Linked DNA regions of Homo sapiens: regions 1, 2 and 3 are each linked to region 4. The links are contacts of gene promoters, found by promoter capture Hi-C in blood cells and fetal thymus (Javierre and others, 2016). All regions are on one chromosome and are shown on one strand. Each heading gives the region's core, a stretch centred on a gene start or on the middle of the fragment in contact. The rest is flanking DNA. Distances are from core to core; before and after follow the strand shown. Region 1 overlaps NF2 (NF2, moesin-ezrin-radixin like (MERLIN) tumor suppressor). Region 2 holds the start of ZMAT5 (zinc finger matrin-type 5). Region 3 holds the start of THOC5 (THO complex subunit 5). Region 4 holds the start of CASTOR1 (cytosolic arginine sensor for mTORC1 subunit 1).

Region 1 (6,159 bases), core at 1,742-4,241, 670 kb after region 4:
TAACTGTTATAACATAAGCCTCATTTTAAGCCAAAGGTAAGGAATTCTCATTATATCATGAGCAAGTGAAAATGATTCACTTACAGAAAATGTCCACTTGATTCAAAATGACAAACTAGACACTGAGGTAATGTAGCACGGATCGTTAGTCATGTCATTCATCCGGCAAAAATGTAAGCCACTGGCAAGTTTACAAAATGCTTTTGAGATAGTATCATACACCAAATGCAATAAAATAATGCCATAGGCAAATAGTTGTTAAGTTGAGGAAGTCCTTCAAATGATCTCTTCTTTCCACTTTCTTTTTCCTGTTTACCAAATACCTAAGTTCTCTCCAGGTTTCTAACTTTTTCTCTCCTACTTCTCTTTTACGCTTCCTATTTGGGTAGCATAGGGTAGTGGAAAGAGGGCTGGCCTGAAAGACAGATGACCTGGCTTCAAATCTCAGTCCCATCACTTAGAAGCTATGTGGTGACTTTGGACACAAAGAAGAGGAAACCCTTGAGCAGAGCCTAGAAGGAGAATGAGTTCAGTTCTGCCAAGCAACAAATGAGAATGGCATTCCAGGCAAAGAGAACAGCCTATGCAAAGATGTGGCAGTGTGAAGGAGGGACCAGGATAATAGGCTCAGAGCAAGAGGGTGCGTGAGGAAGTGGAGGAGAGGCTGAGAAAGGGAGCAAGCTAACGACAGGCACTGAACTTATTTCCTTTTTATTTTTTTAATTTATTTTATTTATTTATTTTTTGAGACAAGGTCTCACTCTGTCACCCAGGCTGGAGTGCAGTGGTGCAATCAGGAAGCTTATGGCAACCTCGACCTCCCAGGCTCATGTGATCCTCCCACCTCAGCCTCCCGAGATGCTAGGACCACAGGTGCACACCACCACAACCGGCTAATTTTTGTATTTTTTGTAGAGATAGGGTTTCGCCATGTTGCCCAGGCTGTTATTTCTTTAGGTAACAACCATTATATATAGCACTTATCTTGTGTTAGGTACTATTCTACGTACTTTACCAGTAATTACTCAAATTTAATTCTTGTAACACTATGCAGGAAGAATTAATTACATTCACCATTTTACAGTTAGGGAACAGAGGCATGTGAGGGGGTTAAGGAGCTTTAAGGTTGCAAAGCTGGTTAGAGGCAGAGCCAGGAATCAAACTCTGAAGTCTATGCTTGTAATCTCTAGGCTATGCTGCCTCAGCGGCCCCAACAAGGAAACTGAAGCTTGAGTTAAGATTTGCTCAACTTACATGTCAGCCTCAATGTGAGGTTCAAATAAGCAACTGCAGGCTTTACTGGTCGATATTAAGTTAAAGGGTGTGCCCATCTATTCTCCCTATTCTCTCACTACCTACCTGTCCCTGTCCTATTCTGCCTCTTTCAGAATAGATAGTGGCTGCACTAAGCCTTTAAGCATGCTATGTATCCTGTCTGAGCCTCTGTTTCCCCACTTAAAGATGAAGTCAGTTACAGAACCTAGGTCCAAAGTAGTCCTTGATCACTGCTAGGAGGTGTTCCCTGCCTGGTCAACGTGGGCACCCAGTAAATCAGAGCTGCGTGTGGTGGTTCACACCTATAATCCTAGCACTTTGGGAGGCTGAGGCAGGAGGATCCCTTGAGCACAGGAGTTTGAGACCAGCCTGAGCAACCAACGTAGGGAGACCCCCATCTCTATTTTTTTTTTTGGAGTCGGAGTCTCTCCCTGTCATCCAGGCTGGAGTGCAGTGGCTCAATCTCAGGCAACCTCCACCTCAGGCAATTATCCTGCCTCAGCCTCCCAAGTAGCTGGAATTACAGGCACATGCCATTGCCCCCGGCTAATTTTTCTATTTTTAGTAGAGACGAGTTTTTCCCATGTTGGCCAGGCTGGTCTTGAACTCCTGACCTCAGGGATCCACCTGCCTCAGCCTCCCAAAGTGCTGGGATTACAGGAATGAGCCACCATGCCCGGCCAACCCTGTCTCTATTATTTAAAAAACAAATAAATAAAAGAGACAGAGTCTCACTCTGTCACCCAGGCTTCATGCAGTGGTACGAACATAGCTCACTGCAGCCTCGAACTCCTGGGCTCAAGTGATCCTCTTGTCTCAGCCTACCAAGTAGTTAGGACTACAGGTGCGCACAACCACGCCTAATTATTGTCTTTTTTTTGAGACAGAGTCTCGCTCTTGTCGCCCAGGCTGGAGTGCAGTGACGCGATCTCAGCTCACTGCAACCCTCACCTCCCAGGTTCAAGCAATTCTCCTGCCTCAACCTCCGGAGTAGCTGGGACTACAGGCGCCCACTACCACGCCTGGCTAATTTTTGTGTTTTCAGTAGAGACAGGATTTCACCATGTGCCCAAACTGGTCTCGAACTCCTGGCCTCAAGTGATCTGGCCACCCCGGCCTCCCACTGGGATTACAGGTGTCAGCCACTGTGCCTAGCCTATTTTATAATATCTCTTGAATGAATAAATGAGTCCCTGTTATATCAAATGAGGTAGTGTGCATTTAAAGCATTTAGCATGGTACCTAGCACAAAGTAACTGCTAGTCCCTAGCCCTTTGTCCCACACAAAGGCAGAATGGGGTCCAGTGGAGGGCAGCACTAGCCAGCATCTGTTTCTTCGCACCCCTTCATCAGCACGCACGCACTCATCACTCACCCCTGCCTGTCCTAGACCTGAGTAGTGGCACCCATGCCATCCATAGGCACTACTTAAAACCCATGGGAGAGGTCGGGCACGGTGGCTCATGCCTGTAATCCCAGCACTTTGGGAGGCCGAGCCAGGCAGATCATGAGGTCAGGAGTTCAAGACCAGCCTGACCAACATGGTAAGACCCCATCTCTACTAAAAATACAAAAATTAGCCTGGCATGATGGCAGGCACCTGTAATTCCAGCTACTCAGGAGGTTGAGGCAGGAGAATTGCTTGAACCCAGGAGACAGAGGTTGAAGTGAGCTGAGATCACGCCACTGCACTCCAGCCTGGGCAACAGAGCGAGACTCCATCTCAAAACAAACAAACAAACAAACAAACAAAAAAAACCCATGGGAGAGCACAGCGGTAAAAAGGTAGATAACAGGCCAGGCGTAGTGGCTCGTGCCTGTAATCCCAGCACTTTGGGAGGCCAAGGCAGGTGGATCACCTGAGGTCAGGAGTTCGAGACCAGCATGACCAACATGGAGAAACCCTGTCTTTACTAAAAATCTAAAAATTAGCAGGGCGTGTTGGCACATGCCTGTATTCCCAGCTATTCGGGAGGCTGAGGCTGGAGAATCACTTGAACCCAGGAGGCAGAGGTTTTGGTGAGCTGAGATCATGCACTCCAGTCTGGGCAACAAGAGTGAAACTCCATCTCAAAAAAAAAAAGGTAGATAACAGTCTTACTTCTGAAACAGGAATAGAAGTTTCTTGTTGCACTAATATAGAGTATAGAACTATTACCCTGTACAACTACACTGCCCTCCAGAGTTTACATCCTTGAAGGGGATGGTTTGCCTGGTCCTAGGGAGCCTAGGATTTAAGATTTTACTGAAAATGCCAGAATTGTTCTATCTGTCTTCCCCTTTAGAAAGTTCCTTCTGTTATGGACAACTTACGTCCACTTGTATGCTGGAATGATCTGCAATGTTGGTATTTAATACAATCATAATCTCACTTAGGTATGTGAAAACATTTAGAATGCCAAACAACAGGAGAAGGAGGCTTTGTTTTCAATATAAGATAGTATTAGGATCTCTTACAACTTCCTATTTGGCTTTTCTTACTGATAGATTGAATTATTAGAGTAAAATTCCAGCCTAGATAAGAAATAACATAGCCGTTTAGCCTCCTGGCAAATTACACTCAGCACCCACTTTCTCAAAATGACAAACAACAAATCTTTCAAGTGGAAAAATCTTCCAAAGCATCCAGCCAATTGAGCAATGCAGCAAGTAGTGCAGGAGATTTTTCCCCCTATCTCTGCAGTAAAAAGAAAAAAAGTCTGAACTTATTAGCATAAGGTAACATGACTCATATGTTAAATGCCACCGGTTCTGAAATTGAGTCCTTCTTGAAAAGCCACCTACATTTGACCTCAATAAAGTCAAGAATTCTACAAGTACTCTCTCTCTCCTTTTTTTTCAAAATGCATCTGCCATCTCCTTGCATCAGCACCTTGCTCATTAATGGACAACATAAAAAGCAGGCAGGAGAATAAAACTAATCACTTACCTGAGCCCTATCATCATAAATCAAACTATGATTACTTTCAACAGAATATGTGAACATGGTTTACAAACAGGTTTTTCCACTGGAAATCTGAGGTTCAGTGAGGTGTAATGGCTTGATAAATCACAACAGGGCAGTGCCCATGGTAACCAGAGCCTCCTACTTTAGGCCAATTATAGTCCCTCCTATATCTTCCTTTCTGCCAGGGACTATGCATTCCATGAATCCTTATAAGAACTCTGCAGGGTCAGCATTATTAGTCTCATTTTACCAATGAGAAAATAAGGTCCAGAGAGCTATGTAACTTGTCCAAAGTAGAAGTATTTTAGCTAGAATTCAAGCCCAGGTCTGTCTTCTTTCAAAGCCGATGCACTTTCTACTACTGCTCTGCTATTCAAAGTGTGGTCCTTGGGCCGGTGGCACAGGTATCATCACCTGAGAGTTTGTTATTAATACAAAATTCTCACTTCCATCCCAGAACTACTGAATCAGAACCTACATTTTTCCAAGATTCCCCAGGTCATTTATGTAAAATTAAAGTTTGGCAAGCTTTGCACTATACCATCCTGCCTCTCTGAATGTCACTACTATTATCCTTTTCTATAGATCAGTGGTTCTCAATGTGGTCATGGAGGTTGGGTAGGGAGAAAGAGGAGATTGGAGGGTGTCCTCCCTACCCCAGGGACACTTGACAATGTCTGAAGACATTTTTGGTTGTCACAACAACTGGGATGGGGTGGGGGAATGCTACTGGCATCTAGTAGGTAGAGGCCAGAGATCCTGCTAAACATCCTAGAACATACAAGACAGCTCCCCACAACAAAGAATCATCCAGCCAAAATGTCAATAGTGCCAGGGTTGAAAAACCTTGCTCTAGCTGATAATACTGTCCAACATCTTTGGGTCTGGAATCTACTTAATGAAGAAAAAAGAGCTTTTCCTGGCAAAATTGCGGCTGAAAAATGTCATACAAAATCCCTTTCCTGGATGGACACAGTGGTTCACACCTGTAATCCCAGCACTTTGGGAGACCAAGGAGGGCGGATCACCTGAAGTCAGGAGTTCAAGATCAGCCTGGCCAACATGGTGAAAGCCCATCTCTACTAAAAATACAAAAATTAGCCGGGCATGGTGGCACATGCCTGTAATCCCAGCTACTTGGGAGGCTGAGGCAGAAGAATCGCTTGAGCCTGGGTGACAGAGGTTGCAGTGAGCTGAGATCACACCATTGCTTTCCAACCTGGGCGACAGAGCGAGACTCCGTCTCAAAAAAAAAAACCCCCAAAAAACTAAAATCCCTTTCCTTATAGGCTAGTCTCTCTTACCCTCTCACAACATCTAACATCTATCAAATAGTAACTTAGATCAGAGATCAGCAAACTATGGCCCACAGGACAAATCCAACCCACCACCTATTTTTGTGTGGCCTGAGAACTAAGAATGATTTTTACTTTTTTTTTTTTTTTTTCTTGAGACGGAGTTTCACTCTTGTTGCCCAGGCTGGAGTGCAACGGCGTGATCTCAGCTCACCACAACCTCCGCCTTCCAGGTTCAAGTGATTCTCCTGCCTCAGCCTCCCGAGTAGCTGGGATTACAGGCGTGTGCCATCACGCCCAGCTAATTTTTCTATTTTCAGTAGAGGCAGGGTTTTACATATTGGCCAGGCTGGTATGAAACTCCTGACCTCGTCATCCGTCCACCTCGGCCTCCCGAAGTGCTGGGATTACATGCGTGAGCCACAGTGCCCAGCATGTTACATTTTTTAATGTTTATTTTCTTGTGAAAATTATGTGAAATTCAAATTTCTGTGTCCATAAAGTTTTCTTGGAACACAGTCATGCCCATTGTTTACATTTTGCCTAAGGTTTTTTTTAAACATCTTGATATATAATTCATATACCCTAAAATTCACCCATTTAAAGTGTATAATTCAGTAGTTTTTAGTACATTCAGTGTGT
Region 2 (6,589 bases), core at 3,518-6,017, 520 kb after region 4:
TGGTGGCGCACACCTGTAGTCCCAGCTACCTGGGAGGCTGAGGTGGGAGGATTGTTTGCACCCAGGTCGAGGCTGCATTGAGCTGAGATCAGGCCATAGCATTCCATTCTGGATGACAGAGCAAGACAGTCTTGCTGTCTCCCAGGCTGGAGTGTAGTGGCGCAATCTCGGCTCACTGTAACCTCCACTTCCCGAGTTCAAGCAATTCTCCTGCCTCAGCCTCCCGAGTAGCTGGGATTACAAGCATATGCCACCACACTCGGCTAATTTTTGTATTTTTAGTAGAGATGGGGTTTCACCATGTTGGCCAGGCTGGTCTTGAGCTCCTGACCTTAAGTGATCCGCCTGCCTTGGCCTCCCAAAGTGCTGGGATTACAGGTGTGAGACACTATGCCCAGCCAAAAATTTTTAGAGACAGGGTCTCACTCTCCCCCAGGCAGGAGTGCAGTGGCACAATCATAACTCACTGTAACCTTAACTTCTTGGCTCAAGTAATCCTCCCACCTCAGCCTCCCAAGTAGCTGGGATTATAGGCTGGTGCCACCATGCTCAGGTAATTTTAAATTTTTTTGTAGAGGCAGGGTATCTCACTATGTTGCTTAGACTGGTCTTAAACTGTTGGCCTCAAGCAATCCTCCCACCTCAGCCTCCTAAAGTGCTGGGATTACAGGCCTGCAACTCCTTTAATACTCCCAAAAATCCCACACAGTATGTTCTACTACCCCATTTTACAGATAAGGAAACCGGAGTTCAGCAAGTTCAAGTGCCTTGCCCTTGTGTATTAGTCCATTTTCACGCTGCTGATAAAGACATACCCGAGACTGGGTAATTTATAAAAAGAGGTTTAATGCATTCGCATTTCCACATGGCTGAGGAGGCCTCACAATCATGGTGGAAGGCGAAAGGCCCGTCTTACATGGCAGCAGGCAAGAGAATCAGAGCCAAGCAAAAGGGGAAACCCCTTATAAAATCATCAGATCTCGTGAGACTTATTCACTATCACGAGAACAGTGTGGGGGAACCGCTCCCATGATTCAATTATCTCCCACCGAGTCCCTCCCACAACACATGGGCACTATGGGAGCTACAATTCAAAACGAGATTTGGGTGGGGACACAGCCAAACCATATCACCTTGGTTCCCATAGCTAGAATCAGTGGAGTAAGGATTCAAACCCACCAACTAAGCACTTTTATGAACTGAACTCATCAGAGTGGAACTGTGGCAGGAGGCTGTGACCCAGAGAGGTATGACTGCTTACCAAAAGATACTCAGTAATAGGCAGAATACACCAAGCTTGTCCAACCCGTGGCCTGCAGGCTGCACGCAGCCCAGGATGGCTTTGAATGAGGCCCAAACACAAATTCTTCAACTTTATTAAAACATTATGAGATTTTTGCACAAACCATTGTTTTTTGTTTTAGCTCATCAGCTATGGTTACTGTATTTTATGTGTGGCCCAAGACAATTCTTCCAACATGGCCCAGGGAAGCCAAAGGATTGGATACCCCTGAACTATACCCTAGGGTGGGGAGTGGCTAAGACCCCTAGGCCAGGGTCTTTCCCCCAGCTGAGGCCATAGTGCTTCCCCATGGCCAAGACAGTGAGGTATTTAAGAATGGAATTACTGGCTTAGAAGCCAAAGTTGACTGTAATATCTCCAACTCTGGCTCCTGTTTTGAAAACCAGAATTCTTTGGAAGTTAATGGAAAACTCAAAATAGCAGATTCTGCCTTTGGGGTGTTTGCAGAGGGCTTTGAAGTGGTCTCAAATTACTGACAAGTGAAGATCAGGTAGAGTTAACAAAGCAACCAATGTAGAAGCAGGTCTCAAGGGCAATTCACATTTATTTCCTGAGCATGCTGACTAAACATACTTCAAACACAGCAGAAGGTAAAGAGTCTGTTTTGTAAGTAAAGCCGTTTCTTGCCAACAGCGAATGGTGGTCCATGAAGAGTACCTTGAGCATCATCTTCAAGCTGAGGCTCCAGCTCTGGGCAAACAGCTGCTGGGTGGACCTGGTCCTTCTGGCCTGGATGGGGGCCTCCAAGGAACTACTTGTTCTCATACTTGTGCTTGATGTGTTTCCACAGCTTCTGCATTTTAAAGACAAGAGCCACAAACTTTGACCTTTGCCTCTCACATTTTACAACTACTCCCACTGCCCTGGTCTCTAAAATGAGCTTGGGGGAAACACATGCCATGTCCTGATTAAAAAGATACACTTGTGGTGGGCAAACTCGAAGCAATCCTATGCTTGATGCACATTTTTTTTTTGAGACGGAGACTCGCTCTATCGCCCAGGCTGGAGTGTAGTGGCGCAATCTCGGCTCACTGCAACCTCAGCCTCTTGGGTTCGAGCGATTCTCCTGCCTCAGCTTCAAGAGCAGCTGGGAATACAGGTATGCGCTACCCGGCTAATTTTTGTATTTTTAGTAGAGATGGGGTTTCGCCATGTTGGCCAAGCTGGTCTCAAACTCCTGACCTCAAGTGATCTGCCTGCCTTGGCCTCCCAAAGCGCTGGGATGACAGGTGTGAGCCACCGCGCCGAGCCTTCATGCATAATTCTTGGCATTTATAAAATACTATGATGCTTTCAATCACCAGGTGAAGTAAGTGGAAAGGGGTGATCTTAATTTCACAGGAAATTCAGTTTGAGATTGAGGGAAGTGCCCCAAAACACACAATTATTAAGGAAAACAGCCTGGAAGATGTCTCAGTTCTTCAACTCCCAGGTATTACTGAAGAGATTATAAGTGCGTAGTCCCAAAATATTTCACCATGAGCCATTTAAGACATTTCCTGGGACCTAAATTGGCTGAAATTCTCATTCCCAGAAGCACAAGAGGTTGAGCACAGTGGCTCACGCCTGTAATCCCAGTACTTTAGAAGGCTAAGGCAGGAGGACTGCCTGAGCTCAGGAATTCAAGACCAGCCTGGGCAACATGGTGAAACCCCATCTCTACAAAAAATACAAAAATTAGCTGGGCGTGGTGGCGCATGCCTGTGGTCCCAGCTACTCAGGAGGCTGAGGTGGGAAGATCACTTGAACCCAGGAGGTCAAGGCTGCAGTGAGCTGTGATCATGCCACTGCACTCCAACCTGGGCGACAGAGTGAGATCCTGTCTCAAAAAAACAAAACAAAACAAAAAAAAGCACAAGGAAAATGGGTGAGTTATAACAACATACTTGGATGTCTCTCCAGATCAATGGGAGTGGTTAACAGAACCACTTGCAAGAGATGGGACAGTAGCAATGCTTTCATATGGGGCAGGAAGTTGCACTGGTCACAGGCAGCATAGCACTAGTGGACAGTGCCTTCCCGGGCTGCAGAGTCAGACAGTCTCAAATTAAAAACACAAGTGAGTGGTGGAACAGGGCTATATGTATAAGGCCTACTCCAGCACAGTCATAATTTAGCGATATAAAGCATGCACTGCACCTAGCACAGTGCATGATACATAAAAGTCAAAAATGTGTTGCGATTCCTACCTCATGCTTCCACTTTCTCCTGAGGAATGTAAGCAATGATTATTTTTCAGTGGTACCACCTACCAGGCATGTGGCACCCTGCCTGCATCTCATGTAATCCTCACAATCGTGCTCAGGTTACTATTAATATCTCCATCTCACAGTTAAAACGGAGTTCAGAGAAGAAACTTGCTCAACTTAATGCCACAGTTAAGTGACAAGGACCAGTGTTCCTATCCAAGGCTTTCTGATTTCATAGCCCCCACTCTCAACCATTAATACCAACTGTCTACGTGGGAAGCCTTGGGGACCAGAAGCGCCGTCTGAAACTTCAGCCACGGCGTCTAAGGTGTCTAACGTCCTTTTCACGACCGTCGCCTGCTCAAATCTGCCCTTGAAACTCTGAGAGACAGGGGTCCCGTTTCTGGCCCTGACTTGCCCCTGGCTTCCTGTGCAGCTAGTAAGTCCTTTGCTCTCACTAGCCTTTAGTTTTTGCTTCTGATAATGGGCAAGTGGGTATGTAGGGTGGCACACAGCAATACTTACAACCCCTGCAAAATGAAATATATTAACCTCGCTTAACGTTTTAGAATTCACATCAAGCCAAGGGGACAGACGGCGGACTCGAGACAGAAGACGCCGACGGTTTACCCCTTACCCCCTTCCTGGTAAAAGTATACTGAGTCCCATCCCACCTCTACTCCACTGTCACCCCTCAGGCGGGTCCAAGGTCAGGGATGGCACAGGCCCTCACCCCCTCGTTGATGTGGTCGTAGATAGCGTCCGCGCCTTGATCGAAGGCGCGCTCGAAGAACATGACGCCCACGATGATGGTGAGGGCGAAGGTGGAGGTCCTGCGGAACAGCAGGGAGTACAATTTCGAAGTCAACGTCGCGGCCGCCATGTTTCTTCACAGTCCAACTCGCGCCACCGCGCCTGCGCTGGGGCCGACCTCGTTCCCCAAAGGCCCTAGACGTGCAACACTTTATGGGATTTGTAGTTCCTCTGAATCTCAGCCTTCGTGTTTTGAACCACAGAGGTATTCCTATCCTGGGAATGAGGAAAAAAACTCAAAAGGTTCATATCAGGACAGCCCAGATAATCTGATAAGATTTATTACCCAATTTTTCTTCTCCAGAATTCCTGGCTGTTAGAATATGTCAAACTACAACTCCCAGAAGCCCTCGCGCGCCATCACCTTCTCCCCGCCCTCCGCCCAGTCCCGGCTTAGATTCCCAAAGCTCTCTGGGAAGGGCGAACTGATGGCCAAGGCGAGACTACGAATCCCAGCAAGCAGTACGCGACGCGAGGACGCAGGAGGAGGAGCCCGGAGCTGCAGCCACCGGGGAGCCAGGTACCTTCCGCGAGACGTCGAGGGGCGAGTCCTAGTCTCTTTTCTCCGCACTGGAAGACTTGAACACTTCCTTCTCTGTGCGTACGCCCTGCGGCGGGACGCACCATTTCTTGGGATAGGGTGTGGATAGAGGGGCGAGGGCAGCTGGGTTCCCGAGACCCTGGCTCAACTCTTCGCCTTGTCCCCTGCACCAGCCCCAAGTCTAGGCCAGGAGCTGGAGCCTGCGGCAAAAGTCTTGTCCTGGAGGTTAAACCCTTCACCCTGGATTAAGGGCAGGGACGGATCTGCCCTGCTTCCTGTTCCTCTCACCCCTGGGCTTCGCACCGGGCAACCCTGGTTTGGAAGGCTGGAGACTTGGAACCTGCTTGGGATTGAAAAGAGCAAGGGCTTTGGAGTACCTGGGGCATTCAACAGATGTTTTCCCAGCGCCTGTTCTGGTCCCTGCTCTGGGGACCCAGCAGTGAACAAAGTCCTTGCTCTCACAGAGCGCTCAATCTACGGAGTGGGCGGGTGGGGAGATGCAGTACAGCAAACAGATAGTGCTTTGGTTGACTGGAGAGGCAGTGGTGGTGACATTGCACCCTGGGTAGCTGCTCTGGGGGGTGACACTTGACTAGAGACCTGAATGAATAGTAGAGTTGAACAGGAAAACGTTGGTGCAAAGGCCTTGAGGCAGCTACAGTCCTGGGATGTTTGAGGGAAAGAAGTAGAGTGGACTGTGAAGAGGTTGACTCCGGTCAGCTCATGTCTGGCCTTGGAACCCACCTTACGGAGTCTTGTTTTCTTTGGTTTTTGTTTTTAGAGACAGGGTCTCACTGTGTTGCCCAGGCTGGTCTCCAACTCCTGGGCTCAAGCAATCTTCCTGCCTCGCCCCCCAAGGTGCGTGAGCCACCGCGTCTGGCCAAGGAGTCTTGTCTTTTTCTAGTTGCACTAGGAGGCCATTGAAGGGTTTTCAGGAGAAATGCGACAAGATTTAATGTGCACTTTAATGTCATCATCCTGGCTGGTCTATGGAGAGTGGACCGCAAGGGGGAAGTTATTGTAGTAGATCATTTGAGGGAAGATGGGTGGTTATTTATTTGAGATGGAGTCTCGGTCTGTCGTCCAGACTGGAGTGTAGTGGTGCTATCTCGGCTTACTGCAACCTCCGCCTCCCGGGTTCAAGTGATTCTCCTGCTTCAGCCTCCCGAGTGGCTGGGATTACAGGCGCCTGCCACCATGCCTGGCTAATTTTTTTTTTTAGTAGAGACAGGGTTTCACCATGTTGGCCAGGCTAGTCTCAAACTCCTGACTTCAGGTGATCCTCCCATCTTGGCCTCCCAAAGTGCTGGGATTACAGGCGTGAGCCACCATGCCCGGCCTGATGGGTGGTAATTTAGGTTAGGGTGTGGAGCAGGGCAGTGATCAGATTTGGGATGTAATTTGGGAGGGAGGGCAGACAGAGCAAGCTAGCAGATGTGTGTAGGGTGCACAGGAAAGAGGAATTGAGGAGGATATCTAAGTTTTTTTTGTTTTTTGTTTTTTGTTTTTTTTTGAGACAGAGTCTCACTCTGTGCGGCTGGAGTGCAGTGGCACAATCTTGGCTCACTGCAACCTCTGCCACCCATGTTCAAGCAATTCTCATGCCTCAGCCTACTGAATAGCTGGGATTACAAGCGGATGCCAACACGCCCAGCTCATTTTTGTATTTTTAGTAGAGACAAGGTTTCACCATGTTGGCCAGGCTGGTCTTGAACTCCTGGCCTCAAGTGATCCGCCTGCCAC
Region 3 (6,084 bases), core at 425-2,924, 740 kb after region 4:
GCCACCAGTCCCCAGTTATCACCCTTGGAAATCCTCTGTTTAGCTTAGTTGCACAAAAGGTAGTATGTCCAGTGGCTAGAGGTGGGGTGGGAAGAGAGGAGGCCAGGCCAGGCCCTCAGGAATTCCCTGGTTTCCACTGGGCCACCCACTTGCTGGACAGTCTGAGCCAAGTCCCTCCTGCTGGAGAAAAGCCTGGAACTGCCAAAACAAAAAAACAAATACAAACAAACCTCGTCACCACGGTCAGGAGGAGGTTCAGACATTCTGCCCAGAGGGGCTGGGGAAAGGGATGGGAGCCAGGAAAGATTTAGGGGCAGGAGACAGACACGTAACAGGAACTCGGAAGGTAGAACTTAGAATTCAGAACTTGGGTTTCAATTGTAGAATTTGGAATCTGGAATACAGAATTGGGAAGAAGAACAGAGATGACAAAAGACCACTTGAAGAGAGGTTCCTAATACTAGACAGATGGAGAGTGGCTTGGCTGTTTCCCCCTGCATATTGGGGTTGAAAACTTAAATGTGTAGTTCCAGTCCTTCTATGCAGAGTCTCTCCTGCCCTCCCTCCTTCCTGCAGGCAAATATACAAGCTAGACCCTGTTCCCTCACCCTGTATCCTGTCTCCCCTAATTGACATTCTATCAGCCCAACCCTCATTCTGCAGGGCCACCTGGTGTGTGGAGGTGGCGGGAGGGGTCAGTGACTCTGGGGGTCTCCTCAGTGACCCCCATACCTCATCATGAACCCTTGGGTAGCTTGATTCTGCCTACCATCCAGGAAAACTTGTGCTGGAATTGCTGATGGAAACAATTAAATATTTACTATAAATCAGTGTCTTTTCTTCATCTGCAAGGAACTTTAGCAGGTGCCTGAGGCAGGGCACAGTAGAGCTGGTGGGCTTAGTCCCACATGGCAGATCTACCCTCCTGGAGGGTACTGTGTTCTTGAGCTATTCTCAACAGTCAGTACTGGTTGGGTGCAGTGGCTCACGCCTGTAATCCCAGCATTTTGGAAGTCCGAGGTGGGCAGATCACTTGAGTGAGGTCAGGAGTTCAAGACCAGCCTGGGCAACATGGTGAAACCCTGTCTCTACTAAAAATACAAAAATTAGCTGGGCATGGTGGTGCATGCCTGTAATCCCAGCTACTTAGGAGGCTGAGGCAGGAGAATCCTTTAAACCCTGGAGTCGGAGTTTGCAGTGAGCGGGGATTGCGCCACTGCACTTCAGCCTGGGTGAGAGAGCAAAACTCTGTCTCAAATAAAAATAAAAATAAAAAAGAGCCAGTATTTTCCTCCTTGCTCCTGGGAAGGAGAAGGAACTGGCCCCGTACAACCAGGGATTCAGGACACGTGTTACTAGCTCCAGATGAGGATTTACACGAAAAAATCCTGGGCCTTGTTTGTACAGTTCATGCCAGGGGTAGGAAATACCTGAAGCTTTCAAATACTGCGTTAGAGTTGTGACTCTGTCCTGGGCAAGTCAGGCCTAAAATGGAGAAACTGGTGATGCACTCCTCAAAAAGCCAAGTGTAAAATGAGGTTAATGCCCTCCCTGACTTGTTGCCTTCACTGGCGTGGCATATTATGGTAAAAATAATAATTAAGAAGTAAGGTTATGCAGGCAAATCCTCTAGCGCCGAAATCTTCCCCGCCGCGCTACCAGGTTCTTTCGTGTTATCTTGGACATAACACAACATTAATTCAACTACTCGGTGGAGCGCCCACTAGCTGCTGGACACTCTCTTAGGCCCTGGGCACAGTGAACGAGAAGCATGTGTCTTTGTTTTTACAGTCTCACCACGCCACCACCTCCCTCGGGGGCCTCCGCGCTGAGCTTCCGGCCTCTACGCCTCGCTTCCGGTCGGCCGCCCCTTCCTTACTTCCGGTTCTCTATGGTGCGCGGGCAAGCTTTGCTCCGCCTCCGGCAGTGGCTTACTCCCGGTGCCAGGTTCTTGGAGCTGTGAGGTGAGGAGGGGACAAGGGCAGTGGGGCTGGGAGATGGGGCGGGGCTGGGCGCTCCGGGACTGAGGTGCTGATCGCCCAAAGGGCGCCCCTGGGCTGGGGTCTGACCCGGCTTCTCCTCCCTCACTACCCGCGGTCCCCGGCCTCTCGGCGCTGCGCTGTTACCTCATCCGAAAAGTGTTCGCTGCAGCATCCTCAGGCTTCACGTTGGAGCCTCTTGATTGTGGTAATGTAGCCTGATGGGGGTGGGGGTGGTGGTGATGGTAACAGCTCACATATATCGTGCTCTTCGGTGTGCCAGGCACTCTACTGTGTTGCCAAAGTCAGGATTTCCCACACTTAAGCCTTTCAGGTCCGGTCTTTGTAGGCTTTGCCAGATCAACTTACCACCTCTACTACCGTTTATTAAAAATTTGTTTGTTTGTTTGTTTTAGTATTTATTGATAATTCTTGGGTGTTTCTCGCAGAGGGGATTTGGCAGGGTCATAGGACAATAGTGGAGGGAAGGTCAGCAGATAAACAAGTGAACAAAGGTCTCTGGTTTTCCTAGGCAGAGGACCCTGCAGCCTTCCGCAGTGTTTGTGTCCCTGGGTACTTGAGATTAGGGAGTGGTGATGACTCTTAAGGAGCATGCTGCCTTCAAGCTTCTGTTTAACAAAGCACATCTTGCCCCGCCCTTAATCCATTTAACCCTGAGTGGACACAGCACATGTTTCAGAGAGCACGGGGTTGGGGGTAAGGCTATAGACCAACAGCATCCCAAGGCAGAAGAATTTCTCTCAGTACAGAACAAAATGGAGTCTCCCTTGTCCACCTCTCTCCACACAGACACAGCAACAATCCGATTTCTCTATCTTTTCCCCACATTTCCCCCCTCTCTACTAGACAAAACCGCCATCGTCATCATGGCCCGTTCTCAATGAGCTGTTGGGTACACCTCCCAGACGGGGTGGCGGCCAGGCAGAGGGGCTCCTCACCTCCCAGAAGGGGCGGCCGGGCAGAGGCGCCCCCCACCTCCCGGACGGGGTGGCGGCCAGGCGGAGGCGCCCCCCTACCCCCGACCCGACGGGGCGGCTGGCCGGGCTGGGGCTGGCCCCCACCTCCCCCCCGGACGGGGCGGCTGGCCGGGCGGGGGCTGCCCCCCACCTCCCGGACGGGGCGGCTGCTGGGTGGAGGGGCTCCTCACCTCTCAGACGGGGCAGCCGGGCAGAGACGCTCCTCACCTCCCAGACGGGGTCGCAGCCGGGCAGAGGTGCTCCTCACATCCCAGACGGGGCGGCGGGGCAGAGGTGCTCCCCACATCTGAGATGATGGGCGGCCGGGCAGAGACACTCCTCACTTCCTAGACGGGATGGGGTCCGGGAAGAGGTGCTCCTCACTTCCCAGACTGGGCAGCCGGGCAGAGGGGCTCCTCACATCCCAGATGATGGGCAGCCGGGCAGAGACGCTCCTCACTTCCCAGACGGGGTGGCGGCCGGGCAGAGGCTGCAATCTTGGCACTTTGGGAGGCCAAGGCAGGCGGCTGGGAGGTGGAGGTTGTAGCGAGCCGAGATCACGCCACTGCACTCCAGCCTGGGCACCATTGAGCACTGAGTGAACGAGACTCCGTCTGCAATCCTGGCACCTCGGGAGGCCGAGGCTGGCCGATCACTCGCGGTCAGGAGCTGGAGACCAGCCTGGCCAACACAGCGAAACCCCGTCTCCACCAAAAAATACGAAAACCAGTCAGGCGTGGCGGCGCGCGCCTGCAATTGCAGGCACTCGGCAGGCTGAGGCAGGAGAATCAGGCAGAGAGGTTCCAGTGAGCCGAGATGGCCGCAGTACAGTCCAGCTTCGGCTCGGCATCAGAGGGAGACCGTGGAGAGAGGGGGAGGGGGGAGGGGGAGGGGTTTACTAAAAATTTTTAATCCAGTCCAAATTTTTTTTTTGCAACGGGATCTCTGTTGTCAAGACTGAGTGCAGTGGCGCGATCATAGCTCACTGCAGCCTGGAACTTCTGGGCTCAAGCCATCCTCCCACCCTAGCCTCCAGAGTAGCTTGGGACCACAGGTGTGCACCGCCATACTAGGCTAATTTTAAAATGTTTTCTAAAGATGGGGTCTCGCTCTGTTGCCCACTCTGGTCTTGAACGCCTGGGCTCAAGCGATTCTCTCACCTCTGCTTGCCTTGGTTTCCCAAAGTGTTGGGATTACAGGTGTGAGCCATGGTGTTGGGCCCAGTCACTTTTTTTGTTGTTGTTGAGACTGAATCTCGCTCTGTTGCCCAGGCTGGAGTGAAGTGGCTGCGATCTCGGCTCATTGCAACCTCTGCTCCCTGGGTTCAAGTGATTCTCCTACCTCAGCCTCCTGAGTAGCTGAGATTACAGGCGCCCGCCTCCACTCCCGGCTAATTTTTGTATTTGTGGTACTGACGGGGTTTCACCATGTTGGCCAGGCTGGTCTCAAACTCCTGACCTCAGGTGATCCACCCGCCTCAGCCTCCCAAAGTGCTGGGATTACAGGCCTGAGCCACTGCGCCCAGCCAAGTCACTTTTTAAACTCAAATTTACTTTGAGAGAAAACTTGAAATCTCTCCACCAGAAATGGAAAGCTGCTTTCACTTGTTTTATGTAGAAGGTAAAAATTAATATAGTTAATATAATGCAACTAGATCATTGTTAACAAACTCTGGCTAGATTTTGTTGTTTAAGGCTGTGGGATAGAGTTCTTTTGTTACAAAGGAACATTGGCATTCATAGATGTTAAAGACAAACTAGGGAACTGAGATGTTCTCCTTGAAGCAATCAGAAGTTTCAAAATAAGAATTGAAAAGGGATTAACTTTCTCCTTAGGTGTTCAGCATTATTTAAGATCACCTATGCATCATCTGAAGCCACAGTCCCAGGTCATCTTCATCACCTTCCCCAGTGGAATGCCTCCTGTGTTAAAGCCCACAACAACCCCTGTGGTAGGGACTGTTATTCTCATTTGATTTGTGAGGAATCAGACCCAGAGAAAAGTGAAGTGACTCGTCCGGGGACTCATAGCCATGAAAGAGTAGAATGGAGATTCCAGTTCAGGGCTCTCTGACTTTTACCGTGACAAACTATTGGCTCCCTCAAGTCGGGGATGTGGAAGCTTCAGTGAGTGATGATTGTGCCACTGCACTCCAGCTTGGGTGACAGAGCAAGAGGGATTAGGGTAAAGGGGACAGTGCTGCCCACCTCAGGAGGCTGTGGTGAGGCAACAAGGGAGGATGCTTTGTGACTGTAGAGCCCCATGAAATGTAGGTTCTATACTTTAAATTCTAGGATCAACCTGGGAGTCAATGGCATCACTAGATGAGAGGCTGGCAGGACTAGGAGGCATAAAAGTGTAGTTAAGAGCACCAGTATGGCATTGATTGGATAGATCCGGATTTTGGCCTACTAGTCATGTGACTCGCAATTACTTGCAAGTAATTCCCCTTGCGAGCCTCAGTTTTGTCATCTGTGAAATGGTGGTAGTTCTTAGCTGAAAAGTTTGTTATAAGGAGCAAATGAGAACATACCCATAAAGTAGTTAGATCAAGGCCCAGCACACAGTGATCACAGTAGTATTGGGAGTGTCTTTAAATGCCAGACCGAGGAGTTTGGATACTAATTTATGGAGCACTCTGCCAGGCTCAGGGGGAAGAGGGTAGAGCTCACAATCTAGGTGGGAAGACAGGTAAATGATTCATAGAGATAAATTCCCTAATAGTGTACCCAAAGTAGCCAAAAGAGGGCTTTGGGGAGACCTGACAGGCTTCCTAGAGCAGATGAGCATTGCTTAGTCTTGAAGGATATAGGGAGGAAAAGGAAGATCTTTGCAAGCAGGGGAAAAGACATGGAGTGTTTGGGGAACTGGGATTGCAGGGTGCAGTTGCAGCTAGGAGCAGAGGTTGGGGACAGTGGGAAGGTCGGTAGGAATAGGAATGCAAGAAATGAAGTTGGGAAGGTAGGTTGGGGACAAACCATCAAGGGTCTTTATGACAAGTCAGGGAATATGGATATTCAGTGCATTATGAAGAGCCAGCAAAGGTTTTGAAACAGGAGAGGCATTAATTAGGTCGGTCTTTTTTAAGAAAGAGAATTTAGACAGTATTGTTGGGCAAGACTGTTAGA
Region 4 (5,758 bases), core at 1,234-3,733:
TCGTGTACAGCTAGGGGCTGGGAAGGGGGTACCACCTTGGTCACCTTGGTGCTCAGCATCTCTTCTCTTTGCCCTACAGAGCCCCTTCTCCTGGGCCCCAGCCCAGCACCAGAGCCTCTCTGAGAGGTACCTTTGCCAGAGGACATGCCAAGTCCCTGGTCAGCCCCCATTCTTAACCCCCATTTTCACTCACCCCATCCCCACTGCCTTATGTCTACCTTCTGCCACAGATGAGGGACACCAGGGCTGGAGCTCAGTGCTGGGCAGAGCAGGGCGTGCTCCCTAGGCCTTGGTCCTCACCCACCCACCAAGGGGGCAGGGACTCCTAAGGAGGAGGTTTCAGGGTCTTCCTCCTTCAAGTCCTGGCCTGGATGCTACCTCAGGCTCCAGTAAGTTTCTGAGAGCTGATTCTGGGTTGGGGTCAGGGACGGGGCCCGGAGTGGAGCACCACGAATGTCCTCACAGGCTCAGCCCAGGCCCTCAGGGAGGGGGGCGAATTGTGGTTCTTTGATAAAATGCCGCCTTCGATTTACTGCCAAGTGCCAGGCTGGACTGGTCAAGTAGGCTCCATTAGCCCCATTTAACAGACGAGGAAACAGGAGCTGAATGGGAAAGCCTCAGCCGGATTTGCACCAAGAGCCCCTCACTCAGCTTCCTCTCCTGACCAGGGCTCCAGGAGACCTGACTCTGCCCTTGAGGGCCCAGGCAGGCACTGCGGTCACAACCTGATGACTGGTGAGGGCAAGGACAGGGTGTCCCTGGGAGAGGCCCCCCTTCTGCTGAGGAAGCAGCTTTTCCAGTCAAACAATAGCGCTATTCCTGGCAGATGACCAAGCTGGGCCAGGCCAGGCCATAGCGGGAGGGGGCAGGAGAGGGAGGAGCAGAGCCTCCCTGGGAGCTTTCAGCCTTCGCCTGGGCCTGGAACATCCTGTCCTGGTACAGCTGGGGATACTGAGGCCTAGGGAGGTGAAGGGTTTCAAGAGACTATCAGGGTAGGCCACTCCACTTCCTGCCTCCTTCCCCTCAGCCCCATGGTTTCCCACTCTGTCTGCACCTGCCATTGATGAGATGGGCTCAGCCTTTGAGAAGCTCCTCCTTCCCCTAGTCCTCCAGGGGATAGGCCAGGATGTGGTGGCTACATAGTGTTTCACAGGAATGTGTCAAGCCCGAGAGTCCAGGGAGGAGGCTTAGCTTGGCTTCCATCTGCCTATGGTGGGGGCTCCAGAGCAGGCAGAGGGCCTGCTTAGGCCTGCTGGGTCCCAATCAGGCCTGAGGCCTGCTTTAGTCTACTTGGTTCAAAGCCTCACATCTGAGGCCTCAGGGTGCTCAGGCCAGGCAAGGGTCCCCTGGAGCATTCTCAGCCCTGCATGGAGCCAACATGGACATGCTGATGCCTGCTTAGCCTTGGGGGGGTCTTAGACCTGTGAAGGCCTGATAAGATCTGGGGTGTCTGCCAGTGCCGGGGGCCTCCTTGAACCTGAAGCAAGTTTAGATGTGCACAGGCTAGCTAAGGGCTGCAGGCTTTGGGGCTCAAGTTTCAGGCTTGAGGTCTGAGTACTCACTGAACCTCAGCTGCAAGGGCCTCCCCCACCAAAGTCTGAGCACTGGGCATTACTGGCTCAAGCACTTCCGGGTTTTGTTGGTATCGAGGGACCTCAAGCCTTAGGCCTTGGCCACCTGCAGCCCCCTAACCCAAAGTATGTCGCTCAGGCAGAGGTGGCTAGGATTCTACCTCTGTGTGCCCCTGGTGAGGAGCCTTCTATTTTGAAAGTTGGATGAAAGGAACAAGTGGGGCTACCAGGCCAGGTTTCAATTTGTCAGCCCCCTCGCAAGCGGGGAAGGGTAGGTATCAATCGCAATCCTGTGTTGGCGGCCCTGCCCCCTGCAGCCATGAGAGGCAGGAGAGCGAAAGGCGCCCGGGGGACAGCGCTGCACAGCAGACCTGTGCCTCTCATTGCTCCGGGGATTTGGGGGCAGCGTTCTGGTCCTAGCCGAGCTCCAGTTTGTTTCGTGTCCCTTCTGTCTCAAGGACTTCAATCATGAAACCCACGTGTGTGCCAGAAGGACAGAAACGTCCCCTCCGGGATGCTCCCACCGGCTGCGCAGCTGGCTTTCCGCGGAAAGGGCGGAGCCCAGGGAGGGGGCGCGTCAGGGGCGGGGCCTGGAGGAGTCAGACGGGGTGGGGTCTATCCCCGAGCCAGTACTAAAAAAGGCGGAGCCGTTCGGGGCGGTCTCGGTGGGCTGGCTGGAAAGCGGGATGAGGTTCTGGCGTTAGGAGGAGGCGTGACCACCCAATAGGCTTCTCTTCCCGCGGGGCGTGGCCGTCAAGGAGCCGGACGCCGCGCCTGGCTGGGCGGGTCAGCCTCGCAGCGGGCGGCGTGGACGCGGCAGCGCAGCGGCTCCTTTAAGGCTCGGGCACCACCCCCGCCGCCCCGCCTCCCGTGCGGCCTGGGTCTAGTTGGCGGCGGGGTCGGGTCCGCGCGAGCCGCGATGGAGCTGCACATCCTAGAACACCGGGTGCGGGTGCTGAGCGTCGCCCGTCCCGGTCTCTGGCTCTACACCCACCCGCTCATCAAGCTGCTCTTCCTGCCCCGCCGCAGCCGGTGCGCGCCCGGGTTCGGGAGCGCAGATAGGGGCTGGGGGCTCTGCTCTCGCTCCGGGCCAGGGTCGGAGGATTAGGATCGCCGTAAGGCAGGCAGGCAGGCGGGCGGGAGCGGGTGGGGAGGACTCTCCCCGTCCGGCCGCCATCCGGCCTGGGGGACCGCCGCCTATCCGGCCCCGTGAGGCCCCCTCCCAGGGGCAAAGCGCAAACAGCCTGGGATGGGCAATGCTTAACTCAGTAGTGTCAAATGGGGGCATTCCTACCTGGTCACTGCGGGGAGCTCCTTCCAGGACGCCTCCCTTCATGTCAGAGGGGCTGGACTAGGGGGTCCAAGGTCCGACGCCCCTGGGGCTGTCGCCGCGGGTGTGAACCTCTCCTCCCTCCAGGAGTGGAGGGGTGGAGGGTTCCTGGAGAGGTCGGGAGGCCGGAAAGTAGCCCCCAACCCCCGAGATGGGGCTAACATCCCATTGGCCTGGAAATTAAAGGCCGAGAGGGCAAGAAGGCGCCCGGCCCAGGGTCGCGGGGGTGTCTCGGGGCAGATGGAGAGAAATCCACTCCCGACCCCTAGTTCTCCACACCAAGCTGAAGATGCTCCCCACCCCCAACCAGGTGCAAGTTCTTCAGCCTGACGGAGACCCCTGAGGATTACACGCTTATGGTGGACGAGGAGGGCTTTAAAGGTGGGGGTTGGTCTGGGGAACGGGAGTACGGGAGGGGCTTGTCGTGCTCCCCTTCTGTAGGGTTCTCACCAGTTGCTGGGATCCGTCCCAAGAGCTTAAGCCTTAAAAGCAGATGGGTCGGGGTTCGAATCCTACTCCACCACTCCCTGGCTGTGTGCCCTTGAGCAAATCACTTTCCCTCTCTGAGCTGTTTTCTCTTATGTAAAATGGGTATAGTTATGGTTCTGATACATAGGGTCCCATGAGGCCTTTATAAACTTAAAACCGCTGAGGGGCACTCAGCAGTCTTAGGCCTGCAGAAGGGCCTCTGTTATGATTCCAGTCAAGTGCTGCTGTTAGAAATCCCTGGGTATTATTTCCTCCTGGTCTTACTCTCTGGTTTGGGTCACCTCCTCCCCTGCTGGTCTGGAAACTCCAGGAGTCTGAGGGAAGGAATGCAGGAGCAGGCAGCCATCTCAGGGGAGGGTCCTGGAGGCCTCCTGGCTGTGCTGGGGTGAATAGCAGCCACCCAGGCCCTGGCCCCAGCTCAGGACTGGACGCCAGCCTGGGCCCTCCCTGGGGCCTGGAGCTGACGCCTAGCTCCTCCTCCTGCTGCTGGCCCTGCCCATCCTCACAGGCTTGGAGTCTCAGGCCAGCTAGCTGGAGCTTAGCCTGTCCCCATGCTCCACTGCAGGCCTTAGTTTCCCTGTTTTTACTTCAGAAGTCTGGGTCTGCAAAAGGGGAAGGCAATCCCCCAGCCAACCTGATCTGCGAATGCCCCCTGGTGGTGCCATGTGGTACAAAGCTTCTGCTAACCCACAGAAGACACCGTAGTGAGGTAGATATTGTCGTCCCATTTTACAGATGAGGAAACTGAGACTCAAATCACCCACCCCAGGTCATAAGACAAATTAACAAAGCTGGGATTTGAACCCAGGTCTGTCTGAATCTGGACCTCTGATCTTAAGTGGGAAGTTTCAATGCCACCAGGCCAGCACTTGAAGCCTTTCTCAGTCTTTGCACACATAGGGACTTCAGGAGCCCCAGCCTCCAGACCTGCCCTTACCTTGATGGAGCCCTCCAAGGCACAGAAAGGGAAACTGAGGCTCAGAGAGGGGCAGGGGCCAGCCTTGTAGACCCTGACCTGACATGTCCCCTGCCCACAGAGCTGCCCCCATCTGAGTTCCTGCAAGTAGCTGAGGCCACATGGCTGGTGCTGAACGTGTCGTCTCACAGCGGTGCGGCAGTGCAGGCTGCTGGGGTCACCAAGATCGCCCGTTCGGTCATCGCGCCACTGGCCGAGCACCACGTGTCTGTGCTGATGCTGTCCACTTACCAGACGGACTTCATCCTGGTGAGTTTCCTGCTGGTGCTGATGCAGAGCAGGGTGGATATAGGTACCTGGGAGCCCATGTGATGTGCCATCTGCTGTGGCCCAGGTGCGGGAGCAGGACCTGTCCGTGGTGATCCACACGCTGGCCCAGGAGTTCGACATTTACCGCGAGGTGGGCGGAGAGCCTGTGCCTGTGACGAGGGATGATTCCAGCAATGGCTTTCCCCGCACTCAGCATGGTGAGGGCCGCCCCCTGACACTTGGACTTGGGCAGGGCCTCCTCTTCCCACTGGGTCCCTTCCCTTTTGGGCCCCAGTGGGGCAGGAGGACCCCGGCCAGTTCCTGGATAGCAAGACCTGCCCCTGGCCCACGCCTCTCCCTGACTAGCCACCAGGGGGCGCCCCAGCCCACGGACACCTTTTCACCTGCTGCTGTCCTCCAGCAGGGCCCAGCCCCACGGTGCATCCCATCCAGAGCCCACAGAACCGCTTCTGTGTCCTCACACTGGACCCTGAGACGCTTCCAGCCATCGCCACCACCCTCATAGATGTCCTCTTCTACTCGCACAGGTGGACCTTGGAACTTCGTCTTTGTCCTCACAGCACTGTTCCCTACACTCTGTCCCACCACTTTCCGCCCATCTATCAGTTTTGCACCTCTTGCTTGTCCTCTCTTGGGGTTCCTGGCAGCCCATGATGCTCACTTGTGCTTCACTGATGTTCGGGGAAGGTTCTTGCCCCAAAGCTGGATCCCTTTCCAGTGGGGTCGTCTGAGCCATGCCCTGGTCTGGCCCTCTCACCGTGGAATCCTTTGTTTTTGGCACAGGCTGGGTTCATTGTCCTCCCCCATCCCCACCCACACCTTCCAGAGGGCTGGACCCTTGGGCGGGTAGCAGATATGGCAGAGCCTGCCCAGGCCACCATACCAGCTCCTTCCCAGGGTTCTGGAGGCTGATCGGGAGCAGGGGCAGTAGGCTGGGTGCCTGGTAGAGCCCCTAAACCTCCCATCCCTCCCCAGCACCCCCAAGGAGGCAGCCTCTAGCAGTCCTGAACCCAGCTCCATCACGTTCTTTGCCTTCTCCCTCATCGAGGGTTATATCTCCATTGTCATGGATGCTGAAACACAGAAAAAGTAGGTGACCCCTGACCCCGGGTGGGCCCCAGG

The links. Contacts are between HindIII fragments. The CHiCAGO score rates a contact against its expected background, and 5 or more counts as called.
Region 1: a contact is called between a fragment that was not itself captured here and the fragment with the promoter of CASTOR1 in region 4, in 2 of 17 cell types (fetal thymus and neutrophils). The highest score is 5.3, in fetal thymus.
Region 2: a contact is called between the fragment with the promoter of ZMAT5 here and the fragment with the promoter of CASTOR1 in region 4, in 2 of 17 cell types (fetal thymus and neutrophils). The highest score is 9.4, in fetal thymus.
Region 3: a contact is called between a fragment that was not itself captured here and the fragment with the promoter of CASTOR1 in region 4, in 1 of 17 cell types (fetal thymus). The highest score is 6.8, in fetal thymus.

The regions. Positions count from the first base shown.
Region 1 is chr22:29,616,256-29,622,414 of GRCh38, reverse strand. All of the region lies in intron 1 of NF2 (NF2, moesin-ezrin-radixin like (MERLIN) tumor suppressor), which reads right to left. Among named protein-coding and RNA genes, the nearest start is that of NF2, 16 kb to the right of the region's middle. The HindIII fragment of the contact is 3,522 bases long and covers 1,231-4,752 here.
Region 2 is chr22:29,765,185-29,771,773 of GRCh38, reverse strand. ZMAT5 (zinc finger matrin-type 5) reads left to right here and starts at 4,767. Exons shown (of 6, transcript NM_001003692.2): 1 at 4,767-4,902. UQCR10 (ubiquinol-cytochrome c reductase, complex III subunit X) reads right to left here and starts at 4,405. Exons shown (of 2, transcript NM_013387.4): 1 at 4,226-4,405; 2 at 1,361-2,096. The coding sequence starts at 4,375. The coding sequence ends at 2,055. RefSeq lists enhancers at 4,274-4,323, 4,233-4,882, 4,684-4,913, 4,883-5,532. The HindIII fragment of the contact is 8,045 bases long and covers 1,299-6,589 here.
Region 3 is chr22:29,549,551-29,555,634 of GRCh38, reverse strand. THOC5 (THO complex subunit 5) reads left to right here and starts at 1,878. Exons shown (of 20, transcript NM_003678.5): 1 at 1,878-1,964. It overlaps NIPSNAP1 (nipsnap homolog 1), which reads left to right. Exons shown (of 10, transcript NM_003634.4): 10 at 1-827. RefSeq lists enhancers at 1,508-1,577, 961-1,658, 3,056-3,755 and a silencer at 1,978-2,167. The HindIII fragment of the contact is 471 bases long and covers 1,439-1,909 here.
Region 4 is chr22:30,286,230-30,291,987 of GRCh38, reverse strand. It overlaps CASTOR1 (cytosolic arginine sensor for mTORC1 subunit 1), which reads left to right and starts at 2,483. Exons shown (of 9, transcript NM_001037666.3): 1 at 2,483-2,603; 2 at 3,212-3,282; 3 at 4,428-4,615; 4 at 4,701-4,833; 5 at 5,040-5,163; 6 at 5,612-5,725. The coding sequence starts at 2,491. RefSeq lists an enhancer at 1,166-1,225 and silencers at 2,106-2,545, 2,746-2,825. The HindIII fragment of the contact is 5,917 bases long and covers 1-4,068 here.